Regions from separate parts of the Homo sapiens genome. Here region 1 is linked to region 2. Evidence: promoter capture Hi-C in human tissues and cell types (Jung and others, 2019). All regions are on one chromosome and are shown on one strand. Each heading gives the region's core, a stretch centred on a gene start or on the middle of the fragment in contact. The rest is flanking DNA. Distances are from core to core; before and after follow the strand shown. Region 1 overlaps STX12 (syntaxin 12). Region 2 holds the start of IFI6 (interferon alpha inducible protein 6).

Region 1 (6,728 bases), core at 2,591-5,090, 130 kb before region 2:
TCGGCTGCACTACCACCTCTGCCTCCCAGGTTCAAGCGATTCTTCTGCCTCAGCCTCCTGAGTAGCTGGGACTACAGGTGCACGCCACCACGCCCAGCTAATTTTTGTATTTTTAGTAGAGACGGGGTTTCACCATATTGGCCAGGCTGCTCTCAAACTCCTGACCTCGTGATCCGCCTGCCTCGGCCTCCCAAAGTGTTGGGATTACAGGCGTGAGCCACAGCGCCCAGCCCACTAACCTTTATTTTCAAGAAGGCTGCTTCAAATCGTGGCAGATTTTGATTTAACAGAACTTATTGGGAACTATTATTCTGTATATTATTTTGTTTAATTCTTACAATAACTCTGATTTATCATAGTCTCCTCTTTGGCATATAATAACGTTTTTGAAAAATAGTCTTTCCAATGGTAATTTATCTAATACTATTGAATTAAGAAAGTTAGGCAAGCATATAGTGCTACTTTAAAAGAGAATTCACCAGGATTTTTGGCATTTGGTGAAAGACTAGCAATCGAATCTTTCAGGTGTTACTGTTTGATGAGGAAAAAGTATGCTTTATAATCAAGCTGTAAGAATAAATATCATTATTATTAAAAAATCAGTCTAATGGATGTATTACTTTTATAATTTAAAAACAGGCTGGGTGCGGTGGCTCATGCCTGTAATCCCAATCCCAGCACTTTGAGAGGCCGAGGTGGGCAGATCACTTTGAGGTCAGGAGTTTGTGACCAGCCTGGCCAACATGGTGAAACCCCGTCTCTACTAAAATACAAAAATTAGCCAGGCATGGTGGTGGGTGCCTGTAATCCCAGCTACTCGAGAGGCTAAGGCAGGAGAATTGCTTGAACCTAGAAGGCAGAGGTTGCAGTGAGCCAAGATCGTGCCACTGCACTACAGCCTGAGTGACAGAGTGAGACTCCCTCTCAGAATAAATAAATAAATAAATAAATAAATAAATAAATAAATAAATAAAAAACAAAGCAAAAATGGTAAAAATCAATGTATTTTCATTTTTAAAAAGCTTACCCTTTTTATAATAGCAATACAGGACAAGCAAAATGAAAAGAATTTCAAATTTCTATCCACTCAGAGGAACACTGTGGGTTTTTGGTTTGTTTTTTTCTTTTTACTTTATCTTTTTCCCCAGATCAAGAAATAACATTGCCAGAGTCCTAAAAGCCTACTCATGTGCCCTTCTCCAATCACAACTCCATCCCTCCCTTTTAAAGTATCTATTATCTTGACTTTGTGAAAATCATTTTCTTGCATTTTAAGAATAGTGAGCTATATTCTTATTCAATATCATTTTGCCTGTTTTTGAACTTTACATAAATGGAATTATACTGTTTATATTCTTTAGTGCTTTTTTTGAATCATTCCAGATTATGCCAGATCCATCTCTGATACTGAATGTAACTGTGGTTCAATCATTTTCTTTGCTGTATGATATTATAGTATATGAACATAACACAATTTATCCATTCTACAGTTGACAGACATCTGGATGTTTCCAATTTTTGACTACTACAAACAATGCTGCTATGCACATTCTTGTACATACATCCTGGTATAACACATACAGGTTTCTCTAGGGTAGAATTGCTGGATCACAAGGTCTGCATGTGTTCTGAAGATACAGCCAAAATGTTTTCCAAAGTAGTTGTTCTAACTTATACCACCGGCCAGATAAAAAAGTTCCTGTTGCATCATATCCATAATGACAACTCCCAGTGTTCACAGAATTTTAAACTTCTGCCCTCCTGGTGGGCATGAAATAGTATTTCATTGTTATTTTAATCTGTAATTTCACCATTACTAAAGAAGCTGAGTACCTTTTCATTTGTTTGACCATTACTCAAAATAATACTAACGTGTTTATTTGCTCCATGAGTGTAAATATCAACAGGACGGAGCAAAAGCAATGGTGGGGGACTGGTGGCGGGGAAGTGGGGATGGTTAATGGGCACAAAAAATAGGAAGAATGAATAGGACCTAGTATTTGATAGCACAAATGGGTGACTATCGTCAATAATAATTTAATTATATATTCAAAAATAACTAAAAGAGTATAATTGAATTGTCTGTAACATAAAGGATAAATGCTTGAGGGGATAGACACCCCATTTACCATGGTGTAATTATTACACATTACATGACTATATGAAAGTATCTCATGTACCTCATAAATATATACACCTACCATGTGCCCACAAAAATTAAAAATTAAAAAAAGGCAATGGTAGTGATATGGTTTGGCTCTATGTCCCCACTCAAATCTCGTCTCGAATTGTAATCCCAACGTGCGAAGGGAGGGACCTGGTGGGAAGTGATTGGATCATGGGGGTGTTAGTGTTCACGTGTTAGTGAGGGAGTTCTCATGAGATCCGGTTGTTTGGTAAGTGTCTGGTATTTCCCCTGCACTCTCTTTCTCTTTCTCCTGCCACCATGTAAGACATGCCTTGCCTCCCCTTAGCTTTCTACCATGGTTGTAAGTTTCCTGAGGCCTATCCAGCCACGCAGAACTGTGAGTCAATTAAACCTCTTTTATTTATAAAGTATCCAGTCTCAGGTAGTATCTTTATAGCAGTGTGAAAATGGACTAATACAGATAGATAAAATGGCTGAAGGCAGTGGCACCGAATTGCACTAGTATTATTGTATTCTTCATCACCACACACTCACCGTATTTTAAAAGCCAATGTATTCTTGAAGCCATACAAATTATTAATTAAACCTTGACCCCTCAATACATATCTTTCTACTATTCTGTATTGTGAAATGGGAAGTGCACATAAAGTACTTCTGCTGCATAAAGAAATACAATGTCTGTCTCTAGGAAAAGCACTTGTGTAATGGAACTGCAGGCTGAACTAGCCACTTTTTTTAGGGAATACCATTTTTACTTATTCAATATAGTTTTATAAGAACTTACTAAAAACTTATTTAAAAGCTTTAAAACTTTCATAAACGTATACATATAAACTTTTCAGATGGGTATTTGGCAGACAACTTGTTGAAAAGAAGTATGAGCCTGTCACTTCAAGGAAAACAACAGAGGGTGTTTGTTGCCAATGACAAAAATGTAGCTTTCAAGTAAAAATAAAAATAAAATTTCGGAAGACTTGTATCTACCATTGTAAGAGTTTCCCAATATTTAAATACTTTTCTGGTGAAACTGATGGAAATATGTATTTTTTTATATTGTAAAATGAAATGTATCGACATTTGGAAGAGCTGCATAACTCAGGGAACCAATACTATCCAAATGATAAATACATGATGCTATAAAAATCATGCATGGATAAAAGATCCAATCAAAGTATAATATAGACCAACAGATGTTAATGTAACAGAGTATGAAGTCATTATAATGGTTTTAGATTGTACAATGCAACTAACTTTTGTCAAGTTTTGATGTAGTATCAAAGAAGAGTATCAACAAGGTTATAAAAATATTCCTTTTCCAATTGTATATTTCTGCTAGCTTGGATTTTCTTCAGATACTTCAACCAGAACAATCTATCATAATAGACTGAATACAGAAGCAGATATAATCCTAGACGAAAAAAGCTGAGAGAGTTCATCACCACTACACCTGCCTCACAAGAAGTGCTAAAGGGAGTTCTTCAAGCTGAATGAAAAGCATAATAATTAGTAACATGAAAACATATGAAAGTATAACATTCACTGGTAAAAGTAAGTAAATAGTCAAATTCAGAATATTCTAATACTGTAATGGTGTTATATAAATCATTTACATCTTTAGTATGGAGGTTAAAAAACAAAAGCAGCTATGAAAATCTAGCTGCCTTCTGGTAAGCCAGACATTAAAATAAAAAAAATTTGCAAAAATGAAAATAATGCTACTCTGCCCACTAATTTTTTTTCTTGGAAACACAATTTTTTAAAATGAAAAATCTAATTTAATTCCTTCTTTCCCCATGTGCATAAAAAATCTAATTTATATTCATGTTAATATGTAATAAGTGTATTATTTGTAAATGAATAAACAAACATCTAAAATTTTTCTCAGTTTTAATTTCTAATACAGTATACATCAATAGATATGACTCATATAAACAAAACTTCTTTGGGGTCTGATATGGTTTGGCTCTGTGTCCCCACCCAAATCTCACCTTGAATTGTAATAATCCCCACGTGTCAAGGGCGAGACCAGATGGACAAAACTGAAGCATGGGGACAGTTTTCCCCTTGTTGTTCTCGTGATAGTGACTGAGTTCTCACAACATCTGATGGTTTTATAAGGGGCTTTCCCCTTCTCTCCGCACTCATTCTCTCTCCTGCGGTCCTGTGAAGAGGTGTCTTCTACCATGACTGTAAGTTTCCTGAGGCCTCCCAGACATGTGGAAATGTGAGTCAACAAAACCCCTTTCCTATATAAATTAAATACTTCAATATAAATTAAAGTAAATTACCCAGTCTCTGGCAGTTCTTTCTTCCTTTTTTTTTTTTTGAGATGGAGTCTCACTCTGTTGCCCAGGCTGGAGTGCAGCGGTGCGGTCTCAGCTCATGGCAATCTCCGCCTCCCGGGTTGAAGCGAGTCTCCTGCCTCAGCGTCCTGAGTAGCTGGGATTATAGGCACCTGCCACCATGCCCGGCTAATTTTTTATATTTTTAGTAGCGATGGGGTTTCACCATGTTGGCCAGGCTGGTCTTGAACTCCTGACCCTGTGATCTGCCCGCCTCAGCCTCCCAAAGTGCTGGGATTACAGGCGTGAGCCACCACGCCCAGCTTCGGGCAGTTCTTTATAGCAGAGTGAGAACAGACTAATACAGGTCCTTAGTAATTTTTTTTTTTTTTAAGATTCAAGAAGATAACTTAATGATATTTTTTTTTGAGACGGAATTTCACTCTTTTTGCCCAGGCTGGAGTGCAATGGTGCAATCTCGGCTCACTGCAACCTCCACCTCCCAGGTTCAAGTGATTCTCCTGCCTCAGCCTCCCAAGTAGCTGGGATTACAGGCATGCGCCACCATGCGCGGCTAATTTTGTATTTTTTAATAGAGACAGGGTTTCTCCATGTTGGCCAGGCTGGTCTTGAACTCCTGACCTCAGGTGATCCACCCGCCTCGGCCTCCCAAAGTGCTGGGATTACAGGCATGAGCCACTGCGCCCGGCCACAGAATTTAATGATTTTTAAGAGTGTAATGGGTTCCTGAGATTAAAAAGTTTGACAACTTTTGTTCTATTGAGTTGTATCTTTCTTTTTCATATTGATTCATGGGAATTCTGGGGTTTTTTTTGTTTTGTTTTTTGTTTTTTGAGATACAATCTTGTTGTGTCGCCCAGGCTGGAGCACAGGGGCACAATCTCAGCTCACTGCAACCTCTGTCTCCCTGGTTCAAGCGATTCTCCTGCCTCAGCCTCCAGAGTAGCTGGGATTACAGGCACGCGCTACCACGCCCAGCTAATTTTGTATTTTTAGTAGAGACAGGGTTTCACCATGTTGGCCAGGCTGGTCTTGAACTCCTGACCTCGTGATCTGCCCACCTTGGCCTCCCAAAGTGCTGGGATTACAGGTGTGAGCCACCACGCCTGGCCGAATTCTTTATATATTCTAAATGCTAGTCCTTTGCTATTAAATATATATAGCAATGTCTTCTCCCTGTGACTAGTCTTTTCACATCTTTACCACTTTTTTTGTTCTTCATTTCTTTCTGCTTTTCAGACTTTCCATCTGAGATCACTTTCCTTCCATCTGAAATACATTATTTAGAATTTCCTTCAATAAGATGTGCTGACAGAAAACTCTCTTTTGATTGAAAATGTCTTTAATTAGCCCTCATTCTGACATATATTTTCACTGGGTTTAGAATCCTAGGTAGGCAGTTATTGTCCTTCATCAACATTCAAGATAGCACTCTACTGGCTTCCACTGTTGTTGAGAAGTCAACTGTCAATCTAACTATTGTATCTTTGAAGGTATTCTAATGTTTCTCTAGCTATCTTTATGATTTTTCTCTTTGTCTCTGGTCTGAAGTTTGTCTTTGATGTATCTAGATTAGAGATTTTATTTATCCTGCTTGGGATTTGTTAGGCTTCTTGAAACTGCAGGCTAGTGTTTTTAATCAGTTCTAGAATATTATCACTCATTATTTCTTCAAATATCACCTCTGTTCTATGTTTGCCCTATTCTCACTCTATAACTCCAGTTAAAACTACGTTAGATCTTTTCTCTCCATTCTCCATTTTTCATAATCTTTCTTCCGTATTTAACCTCTTAACCCCCTATGCTACATGCTGGATAATATATTCTAACCAATTTTTTAGTTAAACCACCCATCCACTAAGTTTTTAAATTTCTATATTATATCTTTCCATTTTAGAAATTCTTTTGACACTTTTTCAAATCTTTGTGTAGTTTCCTGCAGAGGTTTTCAGCCTTTTATGTCTTTAAACACAATAAGTATAGTTGTCTTATAATTCTAATATAAAAAGTCTTTGTAGGTATATTTCACTTCATTGTTGTTTCTACTAATTCTTGTTCAGAGTAATTTGTTTCTTTGCACACATGGTTATTTTTAGTGACTGGTACTTACTGCCCTAGAAAAATTATTTGAGAGTATTATTTCAGGGCTAGGATAAAGGTGTCTTTCTACAGAAGGAATTTGTGTTTGCTTCTATCCCACACATAGGTGGCTCTCCCAGTCCAGGACCACTGAACCATTCAGGTAGGATGAATTTGAGCAGAAAATCTGCCTGAAG
Region 2 (6,596 bases), core at 3,933-6,432:
ACCCGGCCTTGTATGTACTTTTGATGTAAGAAATTTTGGTTTTTAGAGGACGGGTTAATAGGTGCAGCAAACCACCATGGCACACATATACCTATGTAACAAACCTGCACGTTTTGCACGTGTATCCCAGAACCTAAATTAAAATTAAAAAAAAAAAGAAAAAGAAAGAAATTTGGGTTTGAAGGCCTGGTGCAGTGGCTCATGCCAGTAATCCCAGCACTTTGGGAGGCTGAGACAGGTGGATCACTTGAGGTCAGGAGTTCAAGACCAGCCTGGCCAACATGGTGAAACCCTGTTTCTACCAAAAATACAAAAATTAGGCAGGTATGGTGGCACATGCTTGTAATCCCAGCTACTTGGGAGGCTGAGGCAGGAGGATCACTTGAACCTGGGAGGTGGAGACTGCAGTGAGCCAAGATCATGCCACTGCACTCCAGCCTGGGCAACAGAACCACCATCTCAAAAAAAAAAAAAAAAATGGGGTTTGAAGACCAGAGGTGGACAGTGATATTGTGAAATAGATATTTGAAATAGATAACGAAGCCTCCATAAAAAACCAAAAAGACAAGGTTCCGAGAGCTTCCCAATAGCTGAACACATGGATGTTCCTGGAGGATGCTGTGCCCATTCCCCCATACCTCATTTCCTGGCATACAATTCCTAAAATCCTTGGTATCTCCAAAGTGATGCCTTTTGTGTGCTAATGATTTCTTATTTGTTTATTTTTTAGAGATGGGATCTCACTGTGTTGCCCAGGCTAGACTTGAATTTCTAGGCTCAAGCAATCTTCCCACCTCAGCCTCTCAAATAGCTTGGACTATAGGTGTATGCCACCATGCTTTGTATACTAATGATTGACTGATGGCCAGCAGTCTCTAGGTAGCTTCAGGATGGGGCTGGTCACTGGGAAGACCAAGGCAAGGTTAGAGGGTTGGGACTTTCAGCTCCACCCACTGAAGGGGAGAGGGACTGAAAGTCAAGTTGATCACCAGTGGCCAATGGTTTAATCAATCATTCCTATGTAATGAAGCCTCCATAAAAAAGCAAAAAGACAGAGTTCCGAGAGCTTCCCAATAGCTGAACACATGGATGTTCCTGGAGGACGCTGTGCCCATTCCCCCATACCTCACCCAACACATCTCTTCATGTAGCCTTTCTAATTTCCTGTGTAGTAAACTGCTAACTGTGTTTCCCTGTGCTCTAGGAGCCTCTCTAGCACATGAATTAAACCCAAAGAAGGGATTATGGGAATCCCAACTTGTAACCAGTCGGAAGTTCCAGAAGCCCTGATTTGTGTCTTGAGGGTGAGAGTTGAGGAGTCCCTCAACCTGTAGGATCGATGCTCTCTCCAGGTAGACAGTGTCAGAATTGAATTGGAGGCTGGGCACAGTGGCCTATGCCTGTAATCCCAGCACTTTGAGAGGCTGAGGCGGGCAGATCCCTTGAGCCCAGGAGTTCGAGACCACCTGGCCAACATGGCAAAACCCCATCTTTACAAAAAATACAAAAATTACCTGGGCATGGTGGTGCACCCCTATAGTCCCAGCTACTCGGGAGGCTGAGGCAGGAGGATCGCTTGAACACAGGAGGTCGAGGCTGCAGTGAGCCGTGATTGAGCCAGCCTTGGTGACACAGTGAGACCCTGTCTGAAGAAAAGAAAAAAAGTGCTCACTTCAGCAGCACATATACTAAAATTGGAATGATACAGGGAAGATTAGCATGGCCCCTGTGCAAGGATGATACACAAATTCATGAAGCGTTCCATATTTTTATTTTAATAATTAAAAAAAAAAAGAATTGAGGCCAGGCAAGGTGGCTCACGCCTATAATCCCAGCACTCTGGGAGGCCGAGGTAGGCAGATCACCTGAGGTTGGGAGTTCGAGACCAGCCTGACCAACATGGAGAAACCCCGTCTCTACTAAAAATACAAAATTAGCCGGGTGTGGTGGTGCATGCCTGTAATCCCAGCTACATGGGAGGCTGAGTCAGGAGAATCGCTTGAAGCCGGGAGGCGGAGGTTGCGGTGAGCCGAGATAGTACCACTGCACTCCAGCCTGGGCGACAAGAGTGAAACTCCATCTCAAAAAAAAAAAAAAAGAAAAAAAAAATTGAATCGGAGGACACCCAGCTGGTGTCTGCTGCTTGGGGCGTGAGAAAAAAAACCCACCCACACATCTGGTCTGTGGCGATTGTTGTGTTCAGTGAGAGAATAGAAAACGCAGGCCGGGCGCGGTGGCTCCCGCCTATAATCCCAGCACTTTGGGAGGCCGAGGTGGGGGGATCGCGAGGTCAAGAGATCGAGACTATCCTGGCTAACACAGTGAAACCCTGTCTCTACTAAAAATACAAAAAATTAGCCAGGCGTGGGGACGGGCGGCTGTAGTCCCCGCTACTCGGGAGGCTGAGGCAGGAGAATGGCGTGAACCCGGGAGGTGGAGCTTGCAGTGAGCCAAGATCGCGCCACTGCACTCCAGCCTGGGCGACAGACCGAGACTCTGTCTCAAAAGAAAAGAAAAGAAAAGAAAAGAAAAAGCACATTAGGTCATTTTGGTTTTTTTCTTTCCTCTTAACTGTGTAGCAGGTTCAGGCCACAAAACAAGCTATGCTGCCACTTCTGATTATATGATCCTACAATGTTGCTGGATGTATCTGTGTGAAGGTGGATAACAATTCTGTAGGGAGGGAGAAAAAAGATTCTGTAGAAAGTTTCTGAAAGCCCACATAGGAGAATTACGGTTAGGATTCTTAGGATTCTGCAGTAAGGCTATGCTTACTGTGGTCCCTTTGGGAAAAGAGGCCCTGATGTGTCACTGGGCCCCAGTAGTGACTACACATCTCACCACTGGGTGCCAGGTAGCTATATATCTTAAGTTGGGTATTATCAGAAAGGTAGAGCAGCAGTTCCATATGTGATGGAAGCTGGGCGCATTGGCTCATGCCTGTAATCCCAGCACTTTAAGACCTCGAGGCAGAAGGATCACTTGGAGCCAGGAGTTGGAGACTAGCATGGGCAATGTAGTGAGACCTCCATCTCTAAAAGAAATATAAAAATTAGCTGGGTGTGGTGGCACATGCCTATAGTCCCAGATACTTGGGAGGGTGAGTTGGGAGGATTTCTTGAGCCTAGGAAGTCAAGGCTGCGGTAAGCTATGATTGTACCACTGCACTCCAGCCCCGGCAACAGAGTGAGACCCTGTCTCTAACAAACCAACCAACCAACCGACAAAACAACAAAGAGGCCAGGCACAGCAGCTCACACCTGTAATCTCAGCACTTTGGGAGGTAGAGGTGGGTGGATCACCTGAGGTCAGGAGTTCAAGACCAGCCTGGCCAACATGGCAAAACCCCATCTCTACTAAAAATACAAAAAACATTAGCCGGGCATGGTGGCGCGCACCTGTAATCCCAGCTACTTGGGAGGCTGAGGCAGGAGAATCGCTTGAACCCAGGAGGCAGAGGTTGCAGTAAACCAAGATCACACCACTGCACTCCAGCCTGGGGAACAGTGCAAGACTGTCTCAAAAACAAAAACAAAAACAACAAAAAACAAAGAACAAAACAAAACAAAAAATATATGATGGAAATGGTATATTCAAGGCTGAGCAAAGGGGTCTAAAAGGCTTGAGTAAATTAAATAAACAGGGAGCTCAGAGTCCTGTGGCGCCCAACTCTGTTTCTCTGGGTTTTCTCTTTGACCCATATATATGGCCTCATGGAGTGTTCCCAGCAACCAACAGATAATGGAGGAAAGGAGTCAAACTCAATTCACAGATAAGTCAGTATAATATTTTGGTATCAGCTGGAAACGGACCACTCTATTACAGCCCCATTTGGGGGTGGCACTGAATAATAGTGAATCCTCCCAGGGGGCAGAACTAGGAGCAGTATACCGTGTTGTTCCCTCTGTATGCAGAGAGAGAGAGAGAGAGATGGACTGAAGTACAGACATACACCAATTCCTAATAAGAGGCAAATGGCTTGGCTGGTTGGTCAAAGGCATGGATGGAACAAGATTGGAAGATTGGGAATAAGCAGGTGTGGGTTAGGGGCATAAGAATGAACTCTGAATGGGCATAAAGCACCTGGATCTCTATGTCTCATGTTAATGCTGACCAGAGATCATCTGCTGCAGAGGAGGCTCTACAGCCCAATGGCCAGGATGTCCCATCCTGTGGATGTCAGCCAGCCTCTAAACTTAGCCTCACTATTGCCTTGCAATAGACCTATGAGTGTCCAAGGTGGTAAGGATGGGGGTTAGAAATGAGTCCAACAACTTGGGCTCCCTCTCACCAAAACTGATCTGGCAATTGCCAAAATATAGCCAATCTGCCAGCAGCAGGTAGCAATATGGCAAAATTTCTCAATGAGAATAGCCAGCCATCTGGTGGCAGGTCAATTATTTCAGACCCCTTCCACTTGGGAGAAGGCAATGATTCATCCTTACTGGAATTTCTATGTTCTCCAAATAGAGGTTGCATTTCTGACCCATAGCACTTCAAGCATCACCATCCAAAGGCTTTAAAGAATGCTCAGTTCATTACCTAGGGCCAGGGGACCCATCTTGAAACTCAAGATCTATCATGATGGCCACATGAACACAGGCTTCACTGGTCTTACCATATGCCCATGACCCAGAAGCAGCCAGCCTGAGAGAACAATGGAACAAAGTGACTTAATTTCCAAAGTTCTGGGGGTTTATAAACAGCATATGGTATGTCACATGACTACTGTGGGATTGGAAAAAGATCATGTAAATAGAGCACTTTGCACAGACCCTGGCATGCAGCAAGTGCTCAATAAATGATAGGTGTTGTTTACTAATTGGACTGAATGGTGAAAGGCCTGTGTGCCCCAGGGGGAGCTGGTGATCAGGCTTCACTAAGCCCAGTATGGCCGTGGCTCTCATCATAGTGTGACATGCTTTGAATACCCTTAGCGGCTCCAAAAGTCCTCAGCTTGAAGTGCATTTTTCTGCCAGCAGGCAGCACACAAATGTTCCCGCTGGGCGGAGCTGGGAGAGAGGGGAAAATGAAACTCTGCAGAGTGCAGGAGCTGGGAGAGAGGGGAAAATGAAACTGCAGAGTGCAGAAATAGAAACTCCGACAGGGATTGGCTGCCTAGGGTGAGACGTGGGAGGATCCACAAGTGATGATAAAAAGCCAGCCTTCAGCCGGAGAACCGTTTACTCGCTGCTGTGCCCATCTATCAGCAGGCTCCGGGCTGAAGATTGCTTCTCTTCTCTCCTCCAAGGTAAACTCAGGAGCTATGAAGTGTGGGCATCAAGCTGCCACCCTCTGCCAGGCTGCCTGTCTGCCTGTAAATCTCATGTTCTGAGAGCCAGGAGGCCCCTTCTCCTGGGAGGCAGCACTCCTGGGTCCCTTTTAGTGCTCTGGGCTGGGACTTGTCTAAGAGGATGGGTTGGAGATTTTTAGGGAGATGGGATGCAAAACCCCAAGTGGCATGAGACCCAGCTTACAGGTGCAATATCAGCGATCTGTGGCCTTAACACTGTCACCTCTTGGAGCCTTAATTACTTCCTCTGTAAAAGGAAAGTTAAGTTGCCTTTGCTGCTCAAAGGACTGGATGATTTTAGAATCCCCTTTATTATAGGATCCAATGTGACAGTGAGTTCATCTTTAAGGATAGATGAAGCCATCTGGAGTGGTTGTTAAAAATGTGGGCTTGGTGGCCGGGCGTGGTGGTTCACGCCTGTAATCCCAGCACTTTGGGAGGCCGAGACCCACGGATCACGAGGTCAGGAGATCGAGACCATCCTGGCTAACACAGTGAAACCCTGTCTCTACTAAAAATACAAAAAAAATTAGCCGGGCTTGGTGGTGGGCGCCTGTAGTCTCAGCTACTCGGGAGGCTGAGGCAGGCAGGAGAATGGCATGAACCTGGGAGGTGGAGCTTGCAGTGAGATGAGATTGCGCCACTGCACTCCAGCCTGGGCGACAGAGAAAGACTCCATCTCAAAAAAAAAAAAAAAAAAATGTGGGCTTGGGTATTAGCCAATTGTGGGTTTAAACCCTGACTTTGCCATGACCTGGCTAGGCAGCCTTGGGAATATTACTTAACCTCTCTGAGCTTCAGTTTCCTTATCTATAACATGTGGTTGATAACAATGGTACCTACTTCGTGGTGTTGTTATAGGTACAAGTGGACTGCGTGCCATAAAGTGCTAAGTACTCAATACATGAGAGGAGTTTCTTGTTTTTCTTTTTAACTTAAGAAAATAGCATTGATCTGACAAAGATCATATTAGAGGTGAGTCTGAGGGCATATGCATTTTCCAGTTTTGTGGTATAAAGGAAAGAGCATAGGTTCATGAATTCTGACTGTCTTGAATGTGTACCCATGTTGCACAATTTGCTGTGTGACCTTTATCCCTTGTGATATTGTAAAATATATTTTTTCATCCCCCAGTTCCTGGCATACAACTCCTAAAATCCTTGGAATCTTCAAAGTGATAAATATCTTTTGAGTGATAACTGTCTAATAAGTTGACTGATGGCTGGCATTTCCTCTGGGGAGGGGAGAGGGGCTGAAGGTTAAGCTGATTACCAATGGGCAGTGATTTAATCAGTCATGCCTA

What was found. The method cuts DNA at HindIII sites, captures the fragments that hold promoters and counts their contacts. A contact is called where the count stands out against the background at its distance.
Region 1: a contact is called between a fragment that was not itself captured here and the fragment with the promoter of IFI6 in region 2, in 2 of the 25 tissues and cell types used here (hippocampus and mesenchymal stem cells).

What each region holds. Positions count from the first base shown.
Region 1 is chr1:27,802,558-27,809,285 of GRCh38, reverse strand. All of the region lies in intron 4 of STX12 (syntaxin 12), which reads right to left. Among named protein-coding and RNA genes, the nearest start is that of PPP1R8, 25 kb to the left of the region's middle. RefSeq lists an enhancer at 1,572-2,095. The HindIII fragment of the contact is 3,705 bases long and covers 1,988-5,692 here.
Region 2 is chr1:27,670,778-27,677,373 of GRCh38, reverse strand. It overlaps IFI6 (interferon alpha inducible protein 6), which reads left to right and starts at 5,182. Exons shown (of 5, transcript NM_002038.4): 1 at 5,182-5,251. It also overlaps the pseudogene RNU6-949P. RefSeq lists an enhancer at 4,811-5,150. The HindIII fragment of the contact is 16,144 bases long and covers 1-6,596 here.